Linked DNA regions of Homo sapiens: all the other regions are linked to region 3. The links are contacts of gene promoters, found by promoter capture Hi-C in blood cells and fetal thymus (Javierre and others, 2016). All regions are on one chromosome and are shown on one strand. The core of a region is centred on a gene start or on the middle of the fragment in contact, and the rest is flanking DNA. Distances in the headings are between cores, read along the strand shown. Region 1 has its middle 19 kb from the start of DNAJB9. Region 2 overlaps LOC105375448 (a long non-coding RNA gene). Region 3 holds the start of LSMEM1 (leucine rich single-pass membrane protein 1).

What was found. Contacts are between HindIII fragments. The CHiCAGO score rates a contact against its expected background, and 5 or more counts as called.
Region 1: a fragment that was not itself captured here is called in contact with the fragment with the promoter of LSMEM1 in region 3 in 4 of 17 cell types (total CD4 T cells, naive CD4 T cells, total CD8 T cells and 1 more); the score reaches 8.5 in total CD4 T cells.
Region 2: a fragment that was not itself captured here is called in contact with the fragment with the promoter of LSMEM1 in region 3 in 4 of 17 cell types (total CD8 T cells, naive CD8 T cells, activated CD4 T cells and 1 more); the score reaches 7.8 in total CD8 T cells.

The regions. Positions count from the first base shown.
Region 1 is chr7:108,586,105-108,591,168 of GRCh38, forward strand. No RefSeq gene overlaps it. Among named protein-coding and RNA genes, the nearest start is that of DNAJB9, 19 kb to the left of the region's middle. The HindIII fragment of the contact is 6,518 bases long and covers 1-5,064 here.
Region 2 is chr7:108,604,417-108,609,357 of GRCh38, forward strand. The region is part of intron 3 of LOC105375448 (a long non-coding RNA gene); the gene reads left to right. Among named protein-coding and RNA genes, the nearest start is that of DNAJB9, 37 kb to the left of the region's middle. The HindIII fragment of the contact is 4,915 bases long and covers 1-4,333 here.
Region 3 is chr7:112,478,720-112,483,126 of GRCh38, forward strand. It overlaps LSMEM1 (leucine rich single-pass membrane protein 1), which reads left to right and starts at 2,272. Exons shown (of 4, transcript NM_182597.3): 1 at 2,272-2,627. The HindIII fragment of the contact is 7,612 bases long and covers 1-4,407 here.

The sequences.
Region 1 (5,064 bases), core at 1,361-3,860, 3.9 Mb before region 3:
CCCGTCTCCCTTCTTCTCCTATGTTACTTTTTTTTTCTTTCCATTCAATAATTCCCCAGCAAACAAACCTGTTGCTATTTCTGTCAACAAATTTTTCTTTGGACCCCACTTATTCAACCAATTGTGGTCTCATTTCTTTGCTCTCTTTTGTAGCAAAACTTTTCCTAAGAGTTTTCAATCCCACCATGCCACCAAAACTTCCCTTGTCAGGGTTATCAATGAGCTGCACATTGTGAAAGCAATGTCAGATAACGAATAAATCTGTCATTTCTCTGACTTAATCTTACATACACTTCAACACTTTCCTCCTTGATAGTCTTTCTTTACTTATGTCCCAGAACACTGATCTCTGGGTTTTTCTTTCCTCCATTGGTTGCTTTTTCTCGGTGTCTTTTGTTGATTCCTCTTCCTCTCCTTTGCATCTTCTCAGTTCTGATTCTTTCTGTCCTCTCTCCCCTCCAGTTCTTTCTTATCTCCTCCTTTTCCCTCTTCTCCTTTTTGAGTCTCTTCCCCTTCCCCGTCCCCATTCCCTTTCCTTTCCTTTCCTTTCCTTTCCTTCCTCTTCTCCTTTCATCACTTCCATTCTCTTCTACTCCTGGTTATACTCGTTCCTTTGGTGAACTCTTTCATCCCATAGTTTTAACCATCAACATGCCTGCCACTTCCAAATTTTTATCTCTAGCCAAGATTCATATATTAAAAACTGCAGATTCATATATCCAACTGTCCACTTAACATGTCTAATGTGGTATTGTGGATATTCCAACTCTGACCTGCTCCAGCTCAGCTGATTGTAAAGCCATCCTTCCAGTTGTTTAGGTTAAAACCCCAGAGTGATTCTTGATTTCTTTCATGCTCTTAGCACTCACACTCCATAGGCAATCCCACTGGCTTTGCCTTCAATGTATTTTCAGTATCTGACAGCTTCCTTTCAACTCCAATGTTAGTACCAGCATCATCTTTCATAGGGATTATTAGGTAAAAGAAAGTTTTCATTCTCTACCCCTTATTAGTCTGTTATCAAGCCAACAATGAGAGTTATTCTTTTTAAAGGTACATAAGAACTTGTTATCTTTCTGCCTAAAGCCTTCCATTTACTCCCTCCCCATTCCCAGTAAGAGCTAAATCATTTACAATAGTCTATGAAGTCCTACACAATCAGCTTACCTTCCCTTTACCTCACTGATTTTATCTTTGACTGCTTTTCCCCTTTGTATTAGCCAGGGTTCTCTAGAGCAACAGAACTAATAGGGTATATATTATAAATAAGGGGATTATTAAGGAGAATTGACTCACATGATCACAAGGTGAAGTCCCATGATAGTCTGTCTGCAAGGTGAGGAGCAAGGAAGCCAGTGGTGGATCAATCTGTGGCCAAAGGCTCGAGAACCCCTGGCAAACCACTGGTATAAGTCCAAGACTCTTAAAGCTCAAGAACTTGGAGTCTTATGTTCCAGGGCAGGAAGCATCCAGCACAGGAGAAAGATGAAGGCCAGAAGACTCAGCAAGTCTACTCTTCTGTCTTCTCCTGCCTGCTTTATTCTAGCTGCACTGGCAGCTGATTAGATGGTGCCCACCCAGATTGAGGATGGGTCTGCCTCTCCCAGTCCACTGACTCAAATGTTAATCTCCTTTGGCAACACCCTCACAGAACATCCAGGAACAATACTTTGCATCCTTTAATCCAGTCAAGTTGACACTCAATATTAACCATCACACCCTTCTTCATTCTGTACTAGCCAGACAGGAATCCTCACTCTTCCAGGAACACGCCAGGCTTGCTTTCTCTTTAGGGCCTTTGCACTAGCTGGTTCCTCTGTTTGGAGCATTCTTGATTATACAGCCAATCCCTTCAGCTTCTTCCAGTCTTGGCTCACCTGTCACCTCTTCAATGGGGCCTTTCTGGCCACCCTATTTAATACCACACTGTGTCCCTCCTCCCTCACACTCTCCATCCCTTTATCTTACTCTGTTTTTATTTTCACACAGCACTTATCACCTTATTTCATTACTTATTATGTTATTATCTGTTTCCTCCTGATAGAATATAAGCTACTTGGAGGTAGGGATCTTCCACTGCTGTGTCTCAAGTGCCTATATCTGTGACTGGTATAGGGTAAATTTTCCATAACTATTTAGTGAATAAGTAAATTCGACGTCATATGTGTATATCTCATAATTTGATTTTCTGAAAAGTTACAAAATCCTTTACTTATATGATAAACTAGACTCATCTGCATTGGGACATCTTCCTTATACCAAATAAATGATATCTGTTAATAAAGATATTGGGATACAGGTTTAGTCATCCACAAATTTTTTTTAAATTTTTTTTTAAATTTTTTTTTTTTTTTTTTTTTGAGATGGAGTCTCGCACTATAGCCCAGGCTGGAATGCAATGATGTGATCTTGGCTCACTGCAACCTCCACCTCCTGGGTTCAAGTGATTCTCCCGCCTCAGCCTCCTGAGTAGCTGGGATTACAGGTGTGCACCACCACACCTGGGTAATTTTTGTGTTTTTAGTAGAGACAGGGTTTCACCATGTTGGCCAGGCTGGTCTCGAACTCCTGGCCTCAGGTGATCCACCCGCCTTGGCCTCCCAAAGTGCTGGGATTACAGGCGTGAGCCACCGTGCCCACCTCACAATATGTTTTTTTAATCCCAAATGATAACATCTCTTTTTCTATAACTTTTCTATCATTATTTTTCTTCCAGATATTTTAGTGTGAGAAAATAATTTTCTGTTCAAATGCCATTGTCCAAACTGTCAGAGATACTATCTTATAAGGAATTATTATTGGAAGGAAACAAAATCAGTTTATATATCAATACTGGTGGATCTTGAGATACTTAGAAAACTAGGTCACATCCCCTCAGTTATGAGATCAGAGGGGAACTTAAAAGAAAGAAGACTTTTACCTTGTTAGAAAGTTAAAATCAAGTGTGAACTCTTTTTATGTAGACATCTTCTGTGTGAGTTTATTTTTTAAGGACTTTTATTTATCTTTTTTTTTTTTTTAAGAGACAGGGTCAGCCAGGCAGTGGCATGATCACGATCATAGCTCACTGCAATCTTGAACTCCTGGGTTCAAGCCATCCTCCAGCCTCAGCCTGGACTGCAAGGCATATGCCACCACACTTGGCTAATTTTTTAATTTTTATGTTCTTTTTTTTTTTTTTTTTGTAGAGACAGAGTCTCACTATGTTGCCCAGGCTGGTCTTGAATTCCTGGCCTCAAGTAACCCTTGCATCTCCACCTCCCAGAGTGCTGGGATTACAGGCATGAGCCATCATGCCCAGCTGAGGACCTTTAAAAGAGCAACTCCTCCCTGTCTCAATTCCTCTGAGCTGCTTGTATTGGCACAGTGACATGCAATTGAAATTTCATTTTCAAGCCATAATAAATGGTATACTGAAAATTTCCCCTATTTGTTAGTTACAAACAAAACAATTCTGTCTTTTCCTCCACTTCTAGAATATTTTCAAATTGGTCATATAGGAGGTCAAAAGAAATCTCTATGAATTCATGTTTGACAATCTATAAAGTATGTTTCAGCTGGGACTGCTAACAGAAAAGACTGATGTGAACCTGATATCACCAATGGCTACTTTATGGGACCTGAAAAGAGCTTCATAGAGGATTTCAGAGCCATTTAGCCCTAGGTCCAGCTGTGCCTGAAACCATCTTTCCTTGAACACTTCAGTTATATGAGACAAAAAAGTCTCCTTTTCACTTAAGCCAATTTGAATTGAATTCTAGCACTTGCCACTCACATGGACATTTTATCAAGTGTCAAGGGCAACAAGGAGTTACACTGAGTTCCCCCAGAGAAGGAAGGAGAAAGATAGAAGCACAAGGGAAGCTAATGTTTAGATCACAAGATAGAAACTGCTGCCCAGGAGGAGAGAAAAAACCCCTGAGGTTGGAAGAACGCAGGGTGTCTGATTAATGAATGGCAGGGCTATCCTCCCACTCAGCTGCCCTGGAGGATTCCACAGAAATGGCACATGCATGCCTGTGATTTGTTCCTTAAGTGCCTCAGCCTTAAGAGCAGTAGTAATGCCTGTGACCAATCCTGTGGTCAGTGTAGGGTATAGGGCTCCCAAAATATTGTGCCATGGCCTAACAGGGTTATCCAGTTGCCTCAGTGTGCTGTAAATTTTTTTTTCATTTTTACTGTATTCCCTGATGTAAAAAAAGAGATTGGAAAGCACTAGAAGAGGATTGCCATGTGAGGTTTCTATCATAGAGCTTGTAGCAGACAAATCATCATCCCCCAAAGATGTCCATGTCCTAATTCCTAGAACCTGCGAATATGTTGGGTTACCTGGCAAGGGGGAATTAAGGTGGCAGATGGAATTAAGTTTGTTAATCAGATGGCTTCAAAATAAGGAGATTATTCTGGATTATCCATGTGGACCCAGTGTAATCACAAGGGTTTTTAAATGGGAAGGAGGGAGACGGAAGAATTAGAATCTCTGGGAGATGGCATCATCCTGAGAAAGACTGGAGCTGCCCTTGCTGGCTTTGAAGATGGAGGAAGGGGCCACTAACTGGGGAATGCAGCCAGCTTCACGAAGCTGGAAAAGGTAAGAAAATGAATTCTCTCCCATGGTCTCTAGAAAGGAAAATGGGCCTTCCTGACACCTTGACTTTAGACCAGTGAGGCCCACTGTGGACTTCTGACCTTTGGAACTCTAATGTAATAAATCTGTGTTGTTTTTGTCCACTAAGTATGTGGCACATTGTTACAGCTGCAATAGGAAACTCATAAAGTGTCCTATGGATGGAAGTTCTGTGCTTGATGGCAATGCGGGCAACAGCAAGAGGATCAGTAACAATGATGACAGATGTGGACTAAGGGCCAGGCCTGCCCAATTTTGCTATTATTGTGTTAGTCCCAGGATTCTTGTAGATTTCTCAGAGGGATGGCAGGTGCATCCATAATGATGATATTGACCATCCCATCAGCAGGTAGGTGGGAGATCCAAACCAGATTTAAGTTGATTTGGAAAGTTAAGTTCTTGGACCAGAATGTCATGGGACAAATTTATACCCAATA
Region 2 (4,941 bases), core at 626-3,125, 3.9 Mb before region 3:
TGCCTTTAATTGTTATTTCCAGTAGGTATCTGGCTGTCAGTGCACATGAGTTAAGTACCGTAAAATAACAGATGTCACACATCTCACAAGAACAACAGGGAGTCAATATACGCGGCAGAGTAAATCTGATTACCTTAGATAGTAAGGAAAAGAGAAAGAATGCAAAACCAGATGAGCCTATGGCTGTAATTTAAAAAACAAATTATTCCATTTGAATATGTTCTATAGTAATTATGCATTTATACTGAGTACACTAAGAGAAAAGCCATCTTGGAAGAACAGAGCCGATTTGGGTAATTGCAGTGAATTCTTATAATTTTATGTTGTCTTGGCATCCATTTTGAATACAAATTTAAGTTTGTTATACCAGAAGCGGAGCTCGATCACCCTTGACACAGTTTCTGGTTCTACACCACACCCAAATGGGCCCAGACGTGGCCAGAGATAAGAACCTAGAGGCATCTCTTCTGCATACCAGGGCTCCCTGCTTTCTCATTGGTTCCTTTAAATGAACCAGTCAGGCATTTGCCTGTGAACTGAAAGTGCCCCATACCCTATTCGTATATATATACTGCTGGCTGCCCTCTCTGTCTCTCTCTGCCTGACTCTTTGTTCTTGCCTGATGTGACCCAGGGATGAAGACTGTTCTTGACTCATTGTGCCCTCCCTACTCAGTCTCTGTAAATAAAAATCTTGGAACTTGTTTCCTATGGTGGTGGTATGTTGGATTTGCACCTTCCATCTGAAGAACCAGGGGCTGCCCCAGGCTGGGTTTCTTCCAGGAAGCCAGGGAGAGCTCAAGGTTGGGCTCCCAGTGCCAGGGCAATGGTTGGGCAGGTATAAGCTGGATGCAGGTCAGACAAAAGCCATAGGGCATCTGCTGGCTTAAACAAGTTTCCCATGTGAGGGACCATCTCTCTACCCACTTTTGGTCACTGATCAGACTACTAGGCACTAGGCCATCAGCCAAGTAAAAGAAGCATCCCCTGAAAGGCCCACTGCAAACATCCACATAGAGCTTCCCTACATTTCCCATTAGGGCAGGATTGCTAGCTGCCCTTGTGCTGGAACCCCAGTTTAGCTGGGGACTCTCAGTAACAAAGTTTCTCTTAATTCTTAAAGGAACCAAGAAAAGGGGCAGAATAAGTGAGAGAATGAACGAGAATGAAAAAAAGAATAGAACCAGTCGGCCAGTGACATTTTCTAGTGAAACACATATGGGATGCAAGAAAAGGACTCAGAAAAGCCTTGGGAGTAAATATTGAAATGATCTTGAATGATTTGGCAGGAGAAGATGTGTCAGCAGGGCTTACCGTATAGCTCCGAAGGATGGTGATGACGACACCACAGACCAAGATAGTTTACAAAGGCTTAATGGAGCTCAGATATTTGAGAAAAAAAAAAAAAAGATTAACCATATTCAGCTGAGAAAAGGGAACACAAACACATCTGGGGAAAGTAATCTTAAATAAAGATACTCAGATGGAGAAAAACATGTGTCAAGCCTGGACCTGGAGTAAAAGCAGACAGAAAAAATTTGAGTTGCAAGGGATTACAACAGCTCAGAAAGGTGAGAAGTCCCTTCTGTGGTTTTAAACGCAGAGGTGTCTCATTATGAAACCTTGATAAAGGATTTCATGTCTCTTTACAAATGCAATGAGATCCTCGTTACATATCTGAATAAATGAACCATGCCCACAATATACAATGCATTTTGAGGTTTGTGAATATGCAAAATGTAGCTGAAACTGTTCTAACTCCAACTATCATTTCTAGTCAAATGATTTTATAGAAACTTGTTTATCCTAAAGTGTAATTTTCAGATTGTAAAGAACTATTTAATAACAATCACGTTTACTATGTGCTGGGCACTTTTGTGAACACTTTACATATTTAAGTAAATAAATCCTCAGAACAGGCCCCCTCAATAGGTGCAATTGTCCCCCCACTTTCAGCAGATGAAGAATCCAAGTTACAGAGAGCTTAACGACCTTCCCAAGGTCACACATTGAATAAATGGTGATTCAGGGATTCAAACCCAGGCAGAGGATCTCCAGAGCTCATGCACCTTTAGCACTACACTAGACTCTCTGTCTGTGGCAGAAAAAATCTAACTAGATAATTCCCTTTAGTTTGGAGGATAGACTTGATCTGTGAATGAGACTAGAAGGGCCAATGAGATATCCCCAGCCTCTACCATTTATCTGGGACTATATCTTCCTGTCTACTCGCTTCCAAATATCCAGTTCCCCCTTAAAGGTAATCTGTGTGGCCTGCAGGACATGGGGACATGGGGTCTTATGTTATATTTTGTGCTCCAGCACCTGGACATGCATCATCTTTGGCGCATTGAGCTGGAGTGGTCGTGGAGAGACACAGACATGCTGAAGACTATGAGGAGCCTATATAGACCTAAGAATTCCTTATGACTTTTGTGATTTGATTGAGAAATTAGAACTGCAGTTAATTTTAGGAGAGTGTTTAAAGTGACCACAGTGGATAATTTTGGAAAATTCTCCGTGTAAACATATATAACTATGCTACATGTTACTTACAAAACATTCATTTCTTTGGGGACACTATTTGTCTCCCCAGAATCTTGAGGCATAGATGGTTGCCCCAATTACTGTGCTTTTAAGGAATACATAAGATTATGATTACATCAGAATACATTTCTCACTGGGCTGCCATTGTGCTCTTCTTTTTTCCTCTCTGGCCAAAGTCTCTTAGAAGTAGAGTTACTACTTTTTTTAGACAACAAAAGCATACTGCCTCTGGAAGACCATTGTTTAAATCCAAACTCAACGTAGGGTGAGTCTTGTGACTGATCAAATTTCCCTCTGTGCATTGGCAGCTATGAGCCTCTGAGCCAGAGTTGTGACCCAGTCCTAGTAAATATATCATCACCCTTTATTGTCTTAACATCTCTCCTATCCTTACCATTTGCCCAGTTTCTTTCTTTTCTTTTCTTTTTTTTTGAGATGGAGCCTTACTCTGTCAACCAGGTTGGAGTGCATTGGCGTGATCTTGGCTCACTGCAGCTTCTGCCTCCCAGGTTCCAGTGATTCTCCTGCCTCAGCCTCCTGGGTAGCTGGGATTACACGCACCTGCTACCATGCCCGGCTAATTTTTGTATTTTTAGCATAGACGGGGTTTCACCATGTTGGCCAGGCTAGTCTTGAACTCCTGATCTCAGGTGATCTGCCTCCCTCGGCCTCCCCAGGTGTTGGGATTATAGACGTGAGCCACCGCCCCCAGTCCATTTGCCCAATTTCTTGACTTACCGTTTTACTGGTGTATGCTGAATTGTATCCCTTTAAGATTCATATGTCAAAGTCATAACCCCTGGTATTTCAGAATGTGACTGTATTTGGACATAGGATCTTTAAAGAGGTAGTGAAGTTAAAGTGAGGTCATTAGGGCAGGCTCTAATCCAATATGACTGGTGGTGTCTTATAAGGAGAGATTAGGAAACAGATACACAGAAAAAAGACCATGTGAGGACACAGGGAGAAGGCAGCCATCTATAAGGCAGAAAGAGAGGCCTCACTGGAAATCAACCCCAAAGGCACCTTTGTCTTGGACTTACAGCCTCTGAAATTGTGAGAAAATAAATTTGTCTTGTTTGAGCCTCTCAGTCTATGGTATGTTATTATGGCAGTCTGTTATGGACTAAATTATGTTCCCCCAAAATTCATATATTGAAACCCTAACCTCCAGTGTAGACTGTATTTGGGGATAGGGACTTTAGGGAGGTAATTAAGACAGGTGGGTCCCTAATCTGATAGGACTGGTGACATAATAAGAAAAGGAAGAAACACCAAGAGAGCTCCCTCTTTCCATGTAGAGAAGAAGCCAAGTGAGGACACAGTAGGAAGGCAGCCGTCTACAAGCTAGGAAGAGAGTCCTCACTAGAAAACAGTCCCAATGGCACTTTGACCTTGGACTTTCAGCCTCCAGAACTGTGTGAAGATAAATTTCTGTTATTTAATCCACCTAGACTGTGGTATTTTGTGTTGGCCCTAGCAGACTAACAGGTAGCCCTAGCAAACAAATACATTTACCTTGTTCTATTGTTTGGATGTTTTTAGAGGTGCCTTAAATCTTCATTGGAGCAAACCATGTTTGTGTTGATCTCATTTGTAGATATGAAAAAGGAGTAAGTGTTAGCCTGTTTTAAACTGCAAATGCAGTGATTAAAAAAAAGGTATCAAAATGTGCAAGCCAGCAAAGTGTGGCTAAAAAAATGTTTTTATTGATTAATAAACTTCATTCTCTTAAGCAAAATGAAGTATTAACCTCATAATTATTAAACTCCAATTTTTTTGAGTGAAGCTTATGGTTAAATAAGCCAATAAAAATGAACTCTGCTTTTTTGGGTGCAGAAGGTAATTTGAAGAAGATGGACCAGAAAACTGAGCTTGAGTCTTAACCTGGCACTGCTGTTTCTGCCATTCGGAGAAGCTGACTGGCCTCTTCAACTCTTGCATGGGAGCCTTAGTGGTGACTCAGCCCAGGGACAGTCCAAAAAAAATCCCTTTAATGTGAACCTGCTGCCAGCCACATGTACCTTGAGGGTGGAACATCTCAACCACAAGAATTACCTTCTTTGGGAGTGGGAGAGTTGGAGATGAGATGGACTAAAGTTTTGGTGTCTATTGATTCCTTTCCTTCATCTAAAGTTTAACCTCTTTCTCCCTTTCAAGAGATTGGAATAGAATTCTCAGTTCAATAGGCCCATGTGATGAGGTCAAGAGAGTTGTGTTCAACATTTTATCTTTGCTTTACTTCTCCTGGCTCACTAAGGGATCATTCACAATGAGAGGCTGGAAGTAAGCTGATAAAATTAAAATGTAGCACATGGCATATCCAGACAGAAATAACTTGTGCTAAGAATTGTGTCTGGCTTACCTGGTTTTGCCTACCATGGGCATCTTCAAT
Region 3 (4,407 bases), core at 1,022-3,521:
GTTCAATACATTTATTGAGCTCTTCAGTATTGTTTCTTCCTATTTTAATTTTTCTGGTTTTGTAATTTGTACTCCTGCTTTTTTACTGGGCTTTTGGGAGGAAGAAGGTATAGAGTGTTAATCTGCATGTTGAATTTATATGCAGGTGACTTTATTCATGAAACTTGTGGTAACTGCTAGACAAGGGTGGCTGGGTGTTCAATGTGTAAGAATGCTTGTGTTTTCTTGAAAGTAGAAAAATGTTGTGTTATAGACTAGTTGTTCATTGCTTGATTCTTGATTAATTTTGCCCGCTTTCATTATTTTGAGGCTCAAGCATTTTGAAGTATTCATTGTCTGTGACTCCTCTTTGATGGGTACTAAATTTCCTGGGAGTGAATTTAGATACCCTGAGATGTAATATATGAAAGAAAAAGCAAATACTTGAGAATGTCCCTAGATTAGACACTTCATGTGAGAATATCTCTTTTTGTGACCCAAAACTCTTTTTTTTTCTTTTGAGATGAAGTTTCGTTTTTGTTGCCCAGGCTGGAGTCCAATGGTATAATCTGCCTCAGCCTCCTGAGTTGCTGGGATTACATGCATGTGCCACCACACCCGGCTAATTTTGTATTTTTAGTAGAGATGGGGTTTCTCCTTGTTGGTCAGGCTGGTCTCGAACTTCCGACCTCAGTTAATCTGCCTGTCTCGGCCTCCCAAAGTGCTGGGAATACAGGCATGAGCCACCGCACTCGGCCCCAAAACTCTTCTTAAAGGTGGTCTTGCAGGTATGTTATAGTTAAAATGAAGTAGGTTGTCTTGCTTTGTTCTTAAGTGGCTTTCCAGAAGTCTAACTGGTCTAAAGGCAGTCTTATCCCCCTCACTGGTGTATAGTTCAATTCAGACTTGAATGCGAGGTATGGGTTTACATCTCATCTCTGCCACTTATAATCAGTGTATCCCTCAACAATTAAATTCCTTAGTCTCCATTTCCTTCCTCCTTCAGGGGAAGTTAATATTCCACAAAGTTAGAAGTTACAGGAGAGGAAAAGTAGTAAACGCCCCAAAATGAGGCAGTTACTTCTATTATATCTTCAAAGGATACATGGCTCAAGGCAGATCAGGTAGTTGGGAGATTTCTTAAAAACAGCATAATAGCTAACATGAACATTTTCATTATTCAGAGAAATTTGACATAGCTTTTTAACGTATGTTTCTGAGAAAAGTTACTAGTTATATTGTCTTCCTCCAAGAATTAGTCTTTGGGTACAGATGAGGCTTGAAAAAATGACATTCCCTCTTAGACTAGGTAGTGTGAAGGGAAAAAAAAAATGACATTCCTCTTCCCCCAAAGCAGAGTGAGGTCCGTATGGGATATAGGTGTAAAGAAAATTTTGGGCCGGGCATGGTGGCTCAAGTTTGTAATCCCAGCACTTTGGGAGGCCGAGGTGGGTGGATCACTTGAGGTCAGGAGTTCAAGACTAGCCTGACCAACATGGTGAAACCCCATCTCTACTAAAAATAAAGAAATTAGCCAGCTATGGTGGCACATACCTGTAATCCCAGCTACTTGGGAGGCTGAGGCAGGAGAATCTGGAAGCAGGAAGGTCTCAGTAGGCTGGGATCATGCCACTGCGCTCCAGCCTGGGCAACACAGCAAGACTCTGTCTCAAAGAAAATTTTGTGGAACACCTATTTTCTCACTGACATGAAAAATGTTTCAAAGATGAATAATGTCCATCAAGCTATGGCAATGGAAGTGAGGATGATAAAGGATTGCACAGTTGTTCACAACCTCACTGTTAGTATCCTGCTGAGATAGTTGGTCTCCTCATCACTGTAGCATCTTTTATGTACAGCAGAGGGCAGAAGCTCCTTGGCATGTATGTGAGGGAACCACATATATGGAAGGCTGTTATTCCTGAGAAAGGAGGATGTGCAGACACTCACAGAACAAAGCCTTTGTAAAGGAAAGGCGGCCGATGAGATGGAGTGCTTCCTTCACCTGTGGTGGGTCTGTATCCATGAAATCGCCCACTCACAATCGCTTTTTGTAGCTACTGGAAGCACTAGGCGTCTGACCTGCCATCATCCTTGTTATGATGTCATAATCATATTCTGTCCGTGTTTATTGCAGTTCTCTGGTTTGTCTGGAGTGTTTGCAAGTCAGTCATCATAGTGGCAGCTTCCGCCTGCTACAGGATATTTATATATGGAAGCATACCATGGCAGGAGTGCTGGAAAGGTGGTGTCAGCTAACAGTTGCTTCAGCCAGATAAGGACGGTAACTTCAGTCCAATAAAAACCTCATCAGTTACCAACTAAATCAGGGCATGGTGTTTTTTTGTTGTTTTCTTTTTAAAGCATAGTTTTAGTAATATATTTACTAAAAACCTTAGACATTATGAAAAAAGTCAGGATTTGGAATCTTACACTGCTTGGCTAAATTGACACAATATAGACCAACAGTTTCATCCTGGGGCTTATGGGTCTCATAGGAGCACCCGTATGCTGAAGAAAGGCAAAGAGAGAACTACAGAATTTGTAGAAAAGTTTTGTTGTAGTTGCTTCTGAACAATTAGTTTTTGTTTGTTTGTTTTGTTTTGTTTTGTTTTTCTGGTAACCTAGCAGTCAAAGCTCACATTTTTGTAAGTAATTTGCATGCTATTACTCTACTGAGACTGAATTATGATTCTCGAGTCTGGGAAGTTTTTGTTGCATGTGCTCTGTGTTTTTCATTTTTGATAGAAATGATTTAGACTTGATTTTAAAAATTACTTCCTGAATGTGAAGAGGCATTGACTGGGAAATGAAATTAAAGAACAAATTACCATGACTCATTCAATAACACTGCTTATTAGCTTTGAATTATGCCCTATTATAACAATTCTGATTTTGTGGCAAGCAATACTGGTGTGAGTTATTTCTGTGGTTTGATACCAAGCACCTGCCTGGTTAAAAAATAAAGCACCAGGCAATTTTTCATAGACAATTATCTTTATTTGTTGGAATATTTATTTGTAAATAGTCAAAGAATTCTTAAATGACAAAAAATCAACTGTTAGCAGTGATCTAAACCAGAGGAAAATGAAATTACTTACATGTTTCCAGTCAAGGTATAAGAAAGGGTTCTGTTAAAGGGATGCTGCTTTAGCCAATCTTGGTGAATAAGCAAATTTGCACACTGGAGTTGAAAGGAGGGTCAAGTTAGTGTGATGAAGAATTGCTAGTAACACTGGCTTCTCCAGCCTTGCTGGTTGTTCCTAGATGCCCTCATTTGGAGATGCCAAAGATAGCAACTACTGGGTGTCAAACAGCCGTGGGGCCTGGTTTTAAGGCCATGTGATCTTGTATCCCTTTACTAGCAGCCTCATGAGTCATTTGCAAGTCATTTGCAGGCTCTTGGAGCCCTGGAACAGCACCCAACTCAGTTTTCTCTGCTAGTTCTTTATTTTTCCATTTGCGTGTTGCAGCTCATTAAAAAAATATTGGAATAGCATATATTTACATTGTGACTTCACTCTAAAGAAGACATTTTCTTTCAAAGCACGTCATGGCTCACTAGGTTGTTGTCTTAGTTTTTTTTGGAGTCACCTTTTGAGTAGATAGCAAGACCAGTAATATGGAGATTTTATTAGCTGTACTCTTAAAGTCAGTTTTTGTGGCCATGATTTTCTAGCTAGGTCTCTATTTTGTAAACATTGATTAAGCCTCAGTATGAAATTGAAGCAACAGCAGATACATTCCTGAAGGGGAAGCTAAGGCTCAAGGCTATTAAGTCAGAGATCCAAAAATGAACCATGCTTCAGTTACCACACCTAAAATAGAAGCTGTGTGCAGAACAGTGGTCCTGTGATGTGACACATAAAACTTTTTTTCCTGGTCACATATTACTGTTTGGTCAAATATTAGTATAAATGGATGATAAAATATGAAACACATCTAAAAGAATTGTTTTAAAATCTGTGACTATGCATGAGTGAATATTTTGGGGCCTTGGTTTTAACTGCAAAAGGATAAGATTTGACTGACCTCTAAGGCCCTTTTACTCTATTTGCTGCTGCTTTTTAATTTTTTTTAATTGTCATATCAAGTCATTTCCTTAGGAATGCTCTATGAAGTATATTTGGAATTCAGTAATGTCAATAAAGTGCTATGGTAGTATCTTATCTGAAAACTCAGGGAATTGTTTGTTCTTGTTAATTAAAATTTCAAGATAAGTGAAACACACTTTTTTAGTTTTAACCCTAAAAAAAATTTTTAGTCCATGACTTTTTGAGCTCACTTTCTTAGCTAGGGTTCTGGTAGCACATTTTTCACAAGTACCAGTAGTTTTAGGTATTACTGGGAAATTGTTTTTTTAATATTTTAGACTAAGTTTAAATTGCTCAGTAAGTGTCTGATACTTTTTTTCCCCACATCTTCTTT